3 separate regions of the Homo sapiens genome follow, and all the other regions are linked to region 1. The links are contacts of gene promoters, found by promoter capture Hi-C in human tissues and cell types (Jung and others, 2019). All regions are on one chromosome and are shown on one strand. Each heading gives the region's core, a stretch centred on a gene start or on the middle of the fragment in contact. The rest is flanking DNA. Distances are from core to core; before and after follow the strand shown.

Region 1 (3,403 bases), core at 611-3,110:
TGTACTGCATGCCTCTCCTGGGACCAAATCCACCAGCCTTGGTCAGTCATTCAAGGCTCTTCTCGGCCAGGTGCAGTGGCTCACTCCTGTCATCACAGCAGTTTGGGAGGCCGAGGCCGGCGGATCACATGAGGTCAGGAGTTCAACCTGGCCACATGGTGAAACCCCATCTCTACTAAAAATACAAAAATTAGCCAGGTGTGGTGGTGCATGCCTGTAGTCCCAGCTACTCTGGAGGCTGAGGCAGGAGAATTGCTTGAACCTGGAAGGTGGAGGTTGCAGTGAGCCAAAATCACGCCACTGCACTCCAGCCTGGGCAACAGAGCAAGACTCCGTCTCAAAAAAAAAAAAAACAAAAAACCATAGGCCGGGCATGGTGGCTCACGCCTGTAATCCCAGCACTTTGGGAGGCCGAGACGGACAGATCACAAGGTCAGGATTTTGAGACCAGCCTGGCCAATATGGTGAAACCCCGTCTCTACTGAAAAAAATATATATATATACAAAAATTAACCAGGCGTGGTGGCAGGTGCCTGTAGCCCCAGCTACTTGGGAGGCTGAGGCAGGAGAATAGCTTGAACCCGGGCGGCGAAGGTTGAGTGAGCCGAGATTGCACCACTGCACTCCAGCCTGGGCGACAGAGCGAGACTCCATCTCAAAAAAAAGAGTAGTAAGTTCCACCCACCTCCCAGTATGGTGACTTGCCATGGCATCTGGCACCCCTGACAGTTCTCTTCACACTGCCATGGGGGCTCTGGCACTCCCACACCATACCCTAGGGCAGGGTCCCTCCCTCGGCCTCTGTCCATTCTCTTCACACTGCCATGGGGGCTCTGGCACTCCCACACCATACCCTAGGGCTGGGTCCCTTCCTTGGCCTCTGTCCTCAGCCCCTCTGACGTTAGAGGAGTTGGAACCCAGGCTCCCCCTTCCCCTCTCCCAGGTGCCCCATGGCAGCCCAGACTCTGTGTCTGCAGTTCAGGGGCAGGGAGTCAGGAGGGCAGGCACAAAGCGTTCTCAGGAAGAACTGGCAATCGGGCGCAAGGGTATCATCTGCCCGGGTGCTCTGGGCACCCTGGAGTCCTCTCCCCACCTCCCACCCCCACCTGATCCTTCCCAGCTGCCACCATTCCTCTCCCACCACACCACCCAGGCCAAAATCACTCCATCCATGACGCCTACAGTAGCCCAGCGTAGGTCTCCCTGGACCACATTTATCCTCAAGGGCCTGTGTCCTTATCCCCCCTTCACCCCCAACTCTCCCCTGCCACAGCCAGCCCTCTGTTCCTCTCACACCCCAAGCTCATTCCTACCTTCACTGGCCTCTTACTCCCCAGCTGAAATATCACCTCCTTAGCAGAGCTTTCCCAGTGAGATAACCCCCCCGCTCCCCGCAGAGCTCTCCCATCACCCAGGGTGTTTCCTTCATGGAACTCATGACAATGTGAGGTTGCCATGTTTCTTTGCTAAGAGGTTTCTTGTGTAAACACCAGGAAGGAAAGGACCTGTGCCTGTCCTCTTCCCTAAGCACTTGAATGAATGAATGAATGAATGAATGTGGTATGGGTGCCTGAGTGAGCAGGACCTTGAATAAGTGTGAGGTCCTCTCTAGGCTTCAGCTTCCTCCGCCTCCTCCCCTCACCGCAGCCGCCTTCCTCCACCCATCCCCACCATCCCAGCTGCTGTGAAATGGGCAAATGTCTTGCCTCCAGGACCTGGGAAGGGTGATGCAGCTCACCTCCCTCCTGTTCACACCCCAGCCACCCCAGCCATCCCAGCCGGGTCCCAGCCACCCACACAGCACCTCCTCCTGGCCCCGCCCTGCCCAGCCCCTCCCAGGTGCCTGAGGTGGAGCCGCCAGTTCCCACAGCACCCCAGCGGCCTGCCATGGGGGGTCTAAGGCCCTGGTCCCGATACGGGCTCCTGGTTGTGGCCCACTTGCTGGCCCTGGGGCTTGGGGCTGTGGTGTTCCAGGCCCTGGAGGGGCCTCCTGCATGCAGGCTTCAGGCTGAGCTCAGGGCAGAGCTGGCAGCCTTCCAGGCAGAGCATAGGGCCTGCCTGCCACCCGGAGCTCTGGAAGAGCTGCTGGGCACTGCCCTGGCCACCCAGGCCCATGGGGTCTCCACCCTGGGCAACAGCTCAGAGGGCAGGACCTGGGACCTTCCCTCAGCCCTGCTCTTCGCTGCCAGCATCCTCACCACCACAGGTAAGAGAGCCAGGCAGCCAAGTCGGGGGGTGCGGCTCCAAGAGGCCATGGCTCCCTGGGGGCTTTGGGGTTCATGCAGCCCTTCCTTCAGCCCCAAAGAGCCAGATGGAGCCCAGGCCCTGTGAGGCCTGACATCACAGCTGGGGCTCCCCACCAACACACCCCAACTGGTGCCTCCACTTCAACTGCCAGGAAGGGTGTGGCCTCCCCAGTCCCACCCCAGGCACCCTTTGAGACCCAGGAGAGCTGCCCAGATGCCACAGCCTGTGGCCAGATAGGGGATACAATACAGTGGGATGGATTCTTGGATGGAAGCAAATAGAATGAACCTGGGAAGGACAGATCAGGACCATGGCCTCGGGTGGGGGAGTGAGGGAAGATAGGGGAGGAAGTCGGCATGAGATGCTTGTGGATCAGGAGGGCACAGACAGGGATGAGGGAGTCCTGCAGAGAAATCGCGTGGGCACAGGCCCAGGGAAAAGCAGCAATGAGACCCACAGCCCTGGGTTTTCGTATTTTTTGCCCCACAAAGTGTCTCAGTATTTTTTGAATTGGAATTTGTATTTCCAACTTTTTTTTTTTTTGAAACGGTGTCTGACCCTGTCACCCAGGCTGGGGTGCGGTGGTGCGATCTTGGCTCACTGCAACCTCCACCTCCCGGGTTCTAGCAATTCTCCTGCCTCAGCCTCCTGAGTAGCTGGGACTACAGGCATGCACCACCATGCCCGGCTAATTTTTGTGTTTTTAGTAGAGACGGGGTTTTGCCATGTTGGCCAGGCTGTTCTCAAACTCCTGACCTCAAGTGATCCACCTGCCTCAGCCTCCCAAAGTGTTGGGATTACAGGTGTGAGCCACTGTGCCCAGCTCATATTTCCAACTTCTTTTGGAAAATCAGGAAACCCACTCACACTGAGCCAGAATCCCTGCAAGGCAACATCCTGACTGGAGCAGAATGGGGCCTGCCCTTTGGATACAGCTCACACTTTCCAGTGTACCCCTGTCCCCACCACTCCTGTTTGTCTCCCATCTGGCTCCGGTAGGCATGTGCGTTTGCAGCTCTGTATTAGCTGATCCTGTTCTCCCAGCACACCCCGCACTCCCACCCCTCCCCGCCTGGCACATGCCCTCTCTCGCCCATGCTGCCTCTTTGCAGCCCTTCATGATTTGCCTGCCCGACTCCCCCACCAGAAGGGGCAG
Region 2 (3,403 bases), core at 261-2,760, 850 kb after region 1:
CCTCCCAAGTTCCTCCCTGTTGGCCAGGCATCCAGGTCTCCAGTCTCCGAGCTGCGGAGAACCCACCGCCACATGCGGCTGCCCCTTTCCATTCGACCCTGTGGGGAGCCAGGCTTCCGGGGCCCCGTTCCTCCTGTGTGAACTGGGCCCCCCGCCCCCATTCCCAGACATCAAGGCCGCGTCTCCAGATAGCCACGATTTCATTCCTCGCTCCCCACAGGTCCCTCTCCCCAAAATATTCCCATCTTGTCCTAGCCCATCCCCCAGACTATCTCAAGGACCAGCTGTCCCCACGCCCCCGACCTCCACTAGGCCTGTGCCACCCGCTGCCTGCAGGAAGACGCCCGGTCCCGGGCCGGGTTAGCCCCATGGGAACGGTTTGTCTCGAAAACAGGAACCCGAGCTGGGGGCTGGGCGGGGCGCCCCTTCCCCACCGCAGTCCGCTTCCTGCCCCTCCCGGCTTCCTCCGCCCGACACCCAGGCAGGGCGGGGGGCACTGGGGCGTCCGCGGTTGGGGGAGGGGCTCTTCGTTTCGGTCCCCCCTCCGCGTCCCGGGCGGCGGGGCCTCCGGTCGCCCGCCCTCGGGGCAGCTAGTGGCGCAGCCCCCCGCCCGCGGCCCTGGCCTCCCGGGCGGCGCGGCAGGGGAGGGGTTAAGCTGCCGCAGGGACCGCCGCGTGCGGGGCGAGAGGGAGCCCCCGGTGGGGGTGGCGCAGCCGGCGGTGCGGAGCTCCGCGCAGGGGCGGAGGGGGGAGGGGGCAGCCTGGCGCGGGGGCGGGGGCGGGGCGGCGGGGAGCGGGGCCGCGGCGTGGAGAGCGGGCGGGAGCCGCAGCCGCAGCGAGGCCGGCGGGCGGGAGCGCACGGAGGTGGGGTCGGCCAGGCCGGTGCGGGCTCCTTGCGGCAGGTCCCAAGAGTGAGTGGGCGAGCGCGGGCGGGGCGCCAGGCGAAGGAGGGCGCGGCCCCCAGCGACTCCCCCCCCGCCCAGGGCGGCGCGGGCGGGCTGGGGGCGGCGAGCGGGTGGGGAGTCTGCGGCCCGGGTCTGGGAGAGGGGGCAGCGGCCACGAGAGCTAAGGCGCGCTGGATCCCCGGAGGGCGGAGGACCTCCACGGTGCACCCAGCTTTTCCCAGCCACCTTCCAGCGGGGCCCTCCCCCGCGTACCCCCATTTGGCAGATGAGAAAATTGAGGCTCCCAGAGGCCAAGTGATTCTCAAGGTCACACGAGGAAGCGGTAGAGCCAGGCGGGGACGGCTCTGGGTGGCTCTTAGGAAAAGTCCGCCTGAGAACTCCGTACAGGAGCTCCCCTGTCCTCCAGCCTGGGGGAGTGAGTATGTGTAGGGCCGGGGTACCTTTCCGTGGGGCAAGGCTCTGCCAAAATCTGGGAGTGAGGGGAGTCAGGGAGCTGGGGCCGCAGGGCGGGCCCTGCACCGCAAATGGGAGGGGGGCGACGGAATGGGCGTGCGCACCCATGGGGGTGTGTGCATGTGTGTGGGAGTGTACATGCGTGGAGAGGCACTGCCTTGCGTGTGTGCACACGTGTGAGGATGTCAGCGCCTGTGTGGCCGCGGGACTCAAGGCTGGCCTGGCTCAAGTGAACAGCACGTCCAGGAGGCGACCTCGTCCGCGGGTTTGCATTCTGGGGTGGACGAGCTGGGTATGTGTGCCTGAGGGTTTCTTCGTGCAGGTGTGCACAGGGTGTGGGTGCCATTGTGTGTGAGAGACGGAGGATGGGAGGCCGGTGCCTGTGGCCCGGTGCGTGTAAGTGCGGACGCCTGCACCTCCACTTAGGTCCCCGGCCTCCGACGAATAACTTGGGTGTGGAGTGTTTGCCCCTGCCAGGGTGCGTATGACCCCGCCAGTGACCGGAGTTGCTAATGGTGTCATGCACCCACCGGCCACCCTTGGCGCGAGCGCCCCCCTCTGGACACCCTGCTCCGTGCGCGCTCACAGTTCGCCTGTGCGGGGCCGGGGCCAGGGTCAGGAGCCGGGGATAGGGAGGAAGAGGGCCTGTGGACAAGCTGAGCCGGGACCCCTGGGACCTTTGCGGAGGTGGCCTGGGAGCGCTCAGTTCCCAGGCTCAGGCTTCCCGCTGACGCCTCCTGGCCGCAGCGGGCTCCCCCCGCCCCAGGAATGTTCCTCTCCCATCCAGTCCGCCTCCCCTAGGGCAGGCCCCCTGGGGGCTGCCGCAGCCCCGCCTCGCCTTCCTGGGCTCCCGGGAGGGGGCGAGGCGGGCAGGACGCCTGGGTTCTCTCCCCCCACCTCCCATACCAGGGAGAAATTCCTCCGAGGTCCCCTCAGGCTCTGGGTTCCCAAAATAACCCTGCGGGGGAAGGGAGGCTGTGGAGGGAGGGAAGCGGGAGGGGCGCAGAGCCGAGCTGCGGGGTGCTGCAGGTGCCTCTGGGGAGAGGGCGCGAGGAGAAGGCGCCCTGCGGGGGGCTGGGCGCCAGCCAGTCCTGGGATCTTGGTTCGTCCCCATCCTCGTGAAGCCCCTCGGCCTTCCCGCGACTCCGAGGGTGGGCCGGAAGCCTCTCTGCGGGTCCGTTTCCCAACTGGCGGGTTGCACCATCCCGGGCCAGACCGTTTAACCCCGGGAGTGGCCGCGGGGGACAACTCCGCCCCTGTCCAGCAGGGGGCGTGCCCGCCCCGCCCCGTTTCTGCCCGCGGGGCCGCTCCCCCGCCCGCGACTCCGCAGACTCCCGCTCTGCCTCTCCCGGGACAGGGGTTCGGTCCGAGCCCGGTGGGAGGCTCCCGGAGCGCAGCCTGGGCCCAGCCCACCCCGCGCCGGCGGCCATGGCAGGCACCCTGGACCTGGACAAGGGCTGCACGGTGGAGGAGCTGCTCCGCGGGTGCATCGAAGCCTTCGGTGAGTGGCTCGGGAGGGCACACGGAGCCTGAGCCTAGCCCCGAGTCTGAGCCCGGGTCCCTGCCTCCCAGGCACAGTCCAGGGCACAGCCCTGACCCGGACCCACCCTGCTCCGCAGCGTGCAGTCTCTTTAACGAAAGCCTCCTCCGCAACGCAGGGCAGAGAGATGCACGCCCTTCAGACAGATGAGGTTTCCCTTCTCTAGCCTTCCCCAGCGGCGGCGAAGGGAGGGCCGGGTCCCGGACTCTGACACTTGAGGGGCATTATCTGTCTCCCGGGGAATCCGGAGGAACTCGCTATCTCCGGCCTGGGAGCTGTTTCCGGCTAATGGGGGGCGGCTTATCTGGTGAAGGGGTGCCCCTTCCCCCCAAGCGCTCAGGAAATGACCTCTGGATTCTTGACCCCGGGGAACCCAGGCTCCTTCCGCCCCAGCTGGTTCCCCTCCGGACGATGGGCGGCTCGGGCGCTCCCCTCCTCCAGTCCTCAGGGCGTGCCTATCTCTCGCCCACCACACCTTTCCTCTCTAATTTGCCTCCTGCTCTCGG
Region 3 (3,403 bases), core at 448-2,947, 530 kb before region 1:
AATCAGAAAATAGAGCATGAGAAGCAAAATCCCACTAGTAATGTCGAACACTAACACATAAAGTGGACTACTGAAGCAAATACCTAAAAGCTAAGTATTAGAGTTGCCCACATTTTTTTTTTTTTTTTTTTGAGGCAGAGTCTTGCTCTGTCACCCAGGCTAGAGTGCAATGGTACAATCTCGGCTCACTGTAACCTCTGCTCCCTGGACTCAAGCAATTCTCCTGCCTCAGCCTCCCGAGTAGCTGGGATTACAGGCATGCGCCGCCATGCATGACTAATTTTTGTATTTTTAGTAGAGACGAGGTTTCACCATGTTGGCCAGGCTGGTCTTGAACTCCCGACCTCAAGTAATCTGCCTGCCTCGGCCTCCCAAAGTGCTGGGATTACAGGCATGAGCCACCATGCCCGGCCTGCCCAGATATTTTAAACAGGACTGATTTTCTTCAATTACTTGAATACCTGAATTATCCCAGTTTTCTATTTTATTTTATCTACACAGGCATAGTTAGACACTGGTTAGAGTAAGACTAGAGGCAAAAGACACCCCTGGTTACTCTACTTGAATCTGTGAGTAATGTGTATTTTCATACACTTTGAATTATTTAACATGACTTAGCTCTCTGACCCTGGAAAATCACTCTGAATCCAGAACATCTTCAAAATAGAGGATGGAATAAAATTGCTTCTAAGATCCTTTTGACTTACTTGGTTTATATCTTCTTTACTATGGGATCAAATCCCATTAAACAGCAAGTCAGTGGCTCAAAATATTTCAAATACTAGAACTTCATTGTAGCAAATGATGCTAAAAGTAGAAATTTAATTGCAATAAGATTTGGTCTACGCATTAATTGATGTGGTACTTTAATTTTTTATTTCCGTAGGTTTTTGAGATTTTGGTGCACCCAACACCCAAGCAGTATACACTGTACCCAATTTGCAGTATTTTATCCCTCACCTGCCTCCTGCCCTTTCACCCGAGTCCCCAAAGTCCATTGTATCATTCTTATGCCTCTGCATCCTCATAGCTTAGCCCCTAGATGCTGTATTTTTAAAAAGAATTTATTGTTCACCAATGTTCATAGCAGCATTATTCACAATGGACAAAAGGTGGAAGCCACCCAAATGTTCATCAATAAAGAGACAGACATGGAAAGAAACAGTTCCTCCTCCTCAATGGGATGTTCTGGTGTCTCCCTGTGGCACCTGGAACTGCGACAGGCCACCTGAGACCATGGGGAGCCAGCGGGCAAGCCTGTACTGAGGATGACAAAGCAGGAGGGCAAAATGAACTTGGCTCCTTGATGCCTTTGCCAGGCTGCTCAGTTAACCAGCACTGGACTCACCCTTGCCCCAGACTTTTGTTTTCTGAAATGATAAACATCTGTGTGTTTAAGTCATTGAGCTGGCTTTTCTGTTTCTTGAAGGTGAAAGCATTCTAACTGATGACACACACTGACCTAAGATGTCTGACACACCATGAGACTTATGCAGTAATGAAAGGCAGAGTTTGATCTCCATAATTAACAAACTCACTGAAAGGCAAAATACACCGTTCTTGTCATTAAAATGCAAGAAAGGCTTCAGAGCAGGTAAAGAACAAGGTTAAAGTGCAGTAAGCAGATCCATACATTTAGCCATTCAATACATAAACGTGGACCCAGAAGTTATCCTGAATGAACCAATTATGCCCCACTTCAGAAATATTAGAAGATGATGACTTAAAATACTGTCTTTATGATCACAACAACCCTAACTATATAACTCTAGGTTATATTATTCCCATTTTATAGATGAAGACACTGAAGCAGAGAAGAAGCTGAGTAACTTGCCCAAAGCCATTATGTCCACAGTTTTCTCTGCCTGGAACTCTTCCTTCTCTTCACTTAGCTAATTCCCACACATCCTTCAGGTTTCAACTTAAGCAATCACTCCTTAGGAAAAAGGCTTCTTTTATGTGTTCAGACAAGGTCCAGAGCTCCTATTATGCTCCACTGCACTCCTGTTCTATGGCAGCATTTTGCACACTTGAGATTAAATATTTGTCTTCCCACTAGAATGCCCATGGCCTGAAACAGTTCCGTCTTTTTTACAACTAGACGGTATTGCCAAAGCTGCGCAGAATGCCTGCCCTTGACAGTCTCACAGTCTGATAGCGAGACAGCAAGTAAACAGTTCCTTGGAGATATTGTGGCTTTAGTTCCAGACCACTGCAATAACGCAAGTGACATGAAATTATTTATTTCCCGGTGCATATAAAAGTTATGTTTACACTATACAGTAGTCTATCAACTGTGCAATAGCATTGTCTTAAAAAAAAAAAAAGTATATACTTTAATTTAAAAATGGGCTGGGTGCGGTGGCTCACGCCTGTAATCCCAGCACTTTGGGAGGCTGAGGTGGGTGGATCACGAGGTCAGGAGATCGAGATCATCCTGGCTAACACGGTGAAACCCCACCTCTACTAAAAACAACAAAAATTAGCCGGGCGCGGTGGCAGGTGCCTATAGTCCCAGCTACTTGGGAGGCTGAGGCAGGAGAATGGCATGAACCCGGTAGGTGGAGCTTGCAGTGAGCCGAGATCACGCCACAGCACTCTAGCCTGGGCGACAGAGCGAAACTCTGTCCCAAAAAAATAAATAAATAAATAAAATAAAAAAATAAAAATGGCTTATTGAGCCAGGCGTGGTGGCTCACGCCTATAATCCCAGCATTTTGGGAGGCCGAGGCAGGTGGATCACCTTAGGTCAGGAGTTCAAGACTAGCCTGGCCAACATGGCAAAACCCTGTCTCTACTAAAAATACAAAAATTAGCTGGACATGGTGGCACGTGCCTATAATCCTAGCTACTTGGGAGGCTGAGACAGGAGAATTGCTTGAACCCAGAAGGCGGAGGTTGCAGTGAGCCAAGACCATGCTACTGCACTCTAGCCCGGGCAACCAAGCAAGACTCCGTCTCATTAAAAAAAAAAAAAAAAAGCTAACAATTTTCTGAGCCCTCTGCAAGTTGCAATCTTTCTCCTGGTGGAGGGTCTTGCCTCAATGTTGATGGCTGCTGACTGATCAGGATGGTGACTGCTAAAGGTTGGGGTATCTGTGACAATTTCTTAAAATAAGACAATGAAGTTTGTCACACTGACTCTTCCTTTCATTAAAGATTTCTCTAAAGTATGCAATACATTTGATAGCATGCTACCCACAGCAGAATTTCTCGCAAAATTGGATTCAGTTCTCTCAAACCTTACTGCTGCTTTATCACTAAGTTTATGTAATACATAGTTATTGTTATAAATTATTGTAATACATTATCATTTCAACAGTGTTCACAGCATCTTTACCAGGAGTAGGTCCCATCTCAAGAAACCACTTTCTCTGCTCATCCACAAGAAACATCTGTTCAA

The links. The method cuts DNA at HindIII sites, captures the fragments that hold promoters and counts their contacts. A contact is called where the count stands out against the background at its distance.
Region 2: a contact is called between the fragment with the promoter of RASGRP2 here and the fragment with the promoter of KCNK7 in region 1, in 1 of the 25 tissues and cell types used here (spleen).
Region 3: a fragment that was not itself captured here is called in contact with the fragment with the promoter of KCNK7 in region 1 in 1 of the 25 tissues and cell types used here (stomach).

Annotation. Positions count from the first base shown.
Region 1 is chr11:65,594,257-65,597,659 of GRCh38, reverse strand. KCNK7 (potassium two pore domain channel subfamily K member 7) reads left to right here and starts at 1,860. Exons shown (of 3, transcript NM_033347.2): 1 at 1,860-2,206. The coding sequence starts at 1,888. The HindIII fragment of the contact is 18,543 bases long and covers 1-3,403 here.
Region 2 is chr11:64,742,249-64,745,651 of GRCh38, reverse strand. RASGRP2 (RAS guanyl releasing protein 2) reads left to right here and starts at 1,510. Exons shown (of 17, transcript NM_001098671.2): 1 at 1,510-1,649; 2 at 2,715-2,858. The coding sequence starts at 2,786. RefSeq lists silencers at 394-593, 844-953, 1,944-1,993, 2,154-2,203, 2,514-2,843. The HindIII fragment of the contact is 18,641 bases long and covers 1-3,403 here.
Region 3 is chr11:66,122,768-66,126,170 of GRCh38, reverse strand. All of the region lies in intron 1 of PACS1 (phosphofurin acidic cluster sorting protein 1), which reads right to left. Among named protein-coding and RNA genes, the nearest start is that of PACS1, 54 kb to the right of the region's middle. The HindIII fragment of the contact is 8,035 bases long and covers 1-3,403 here.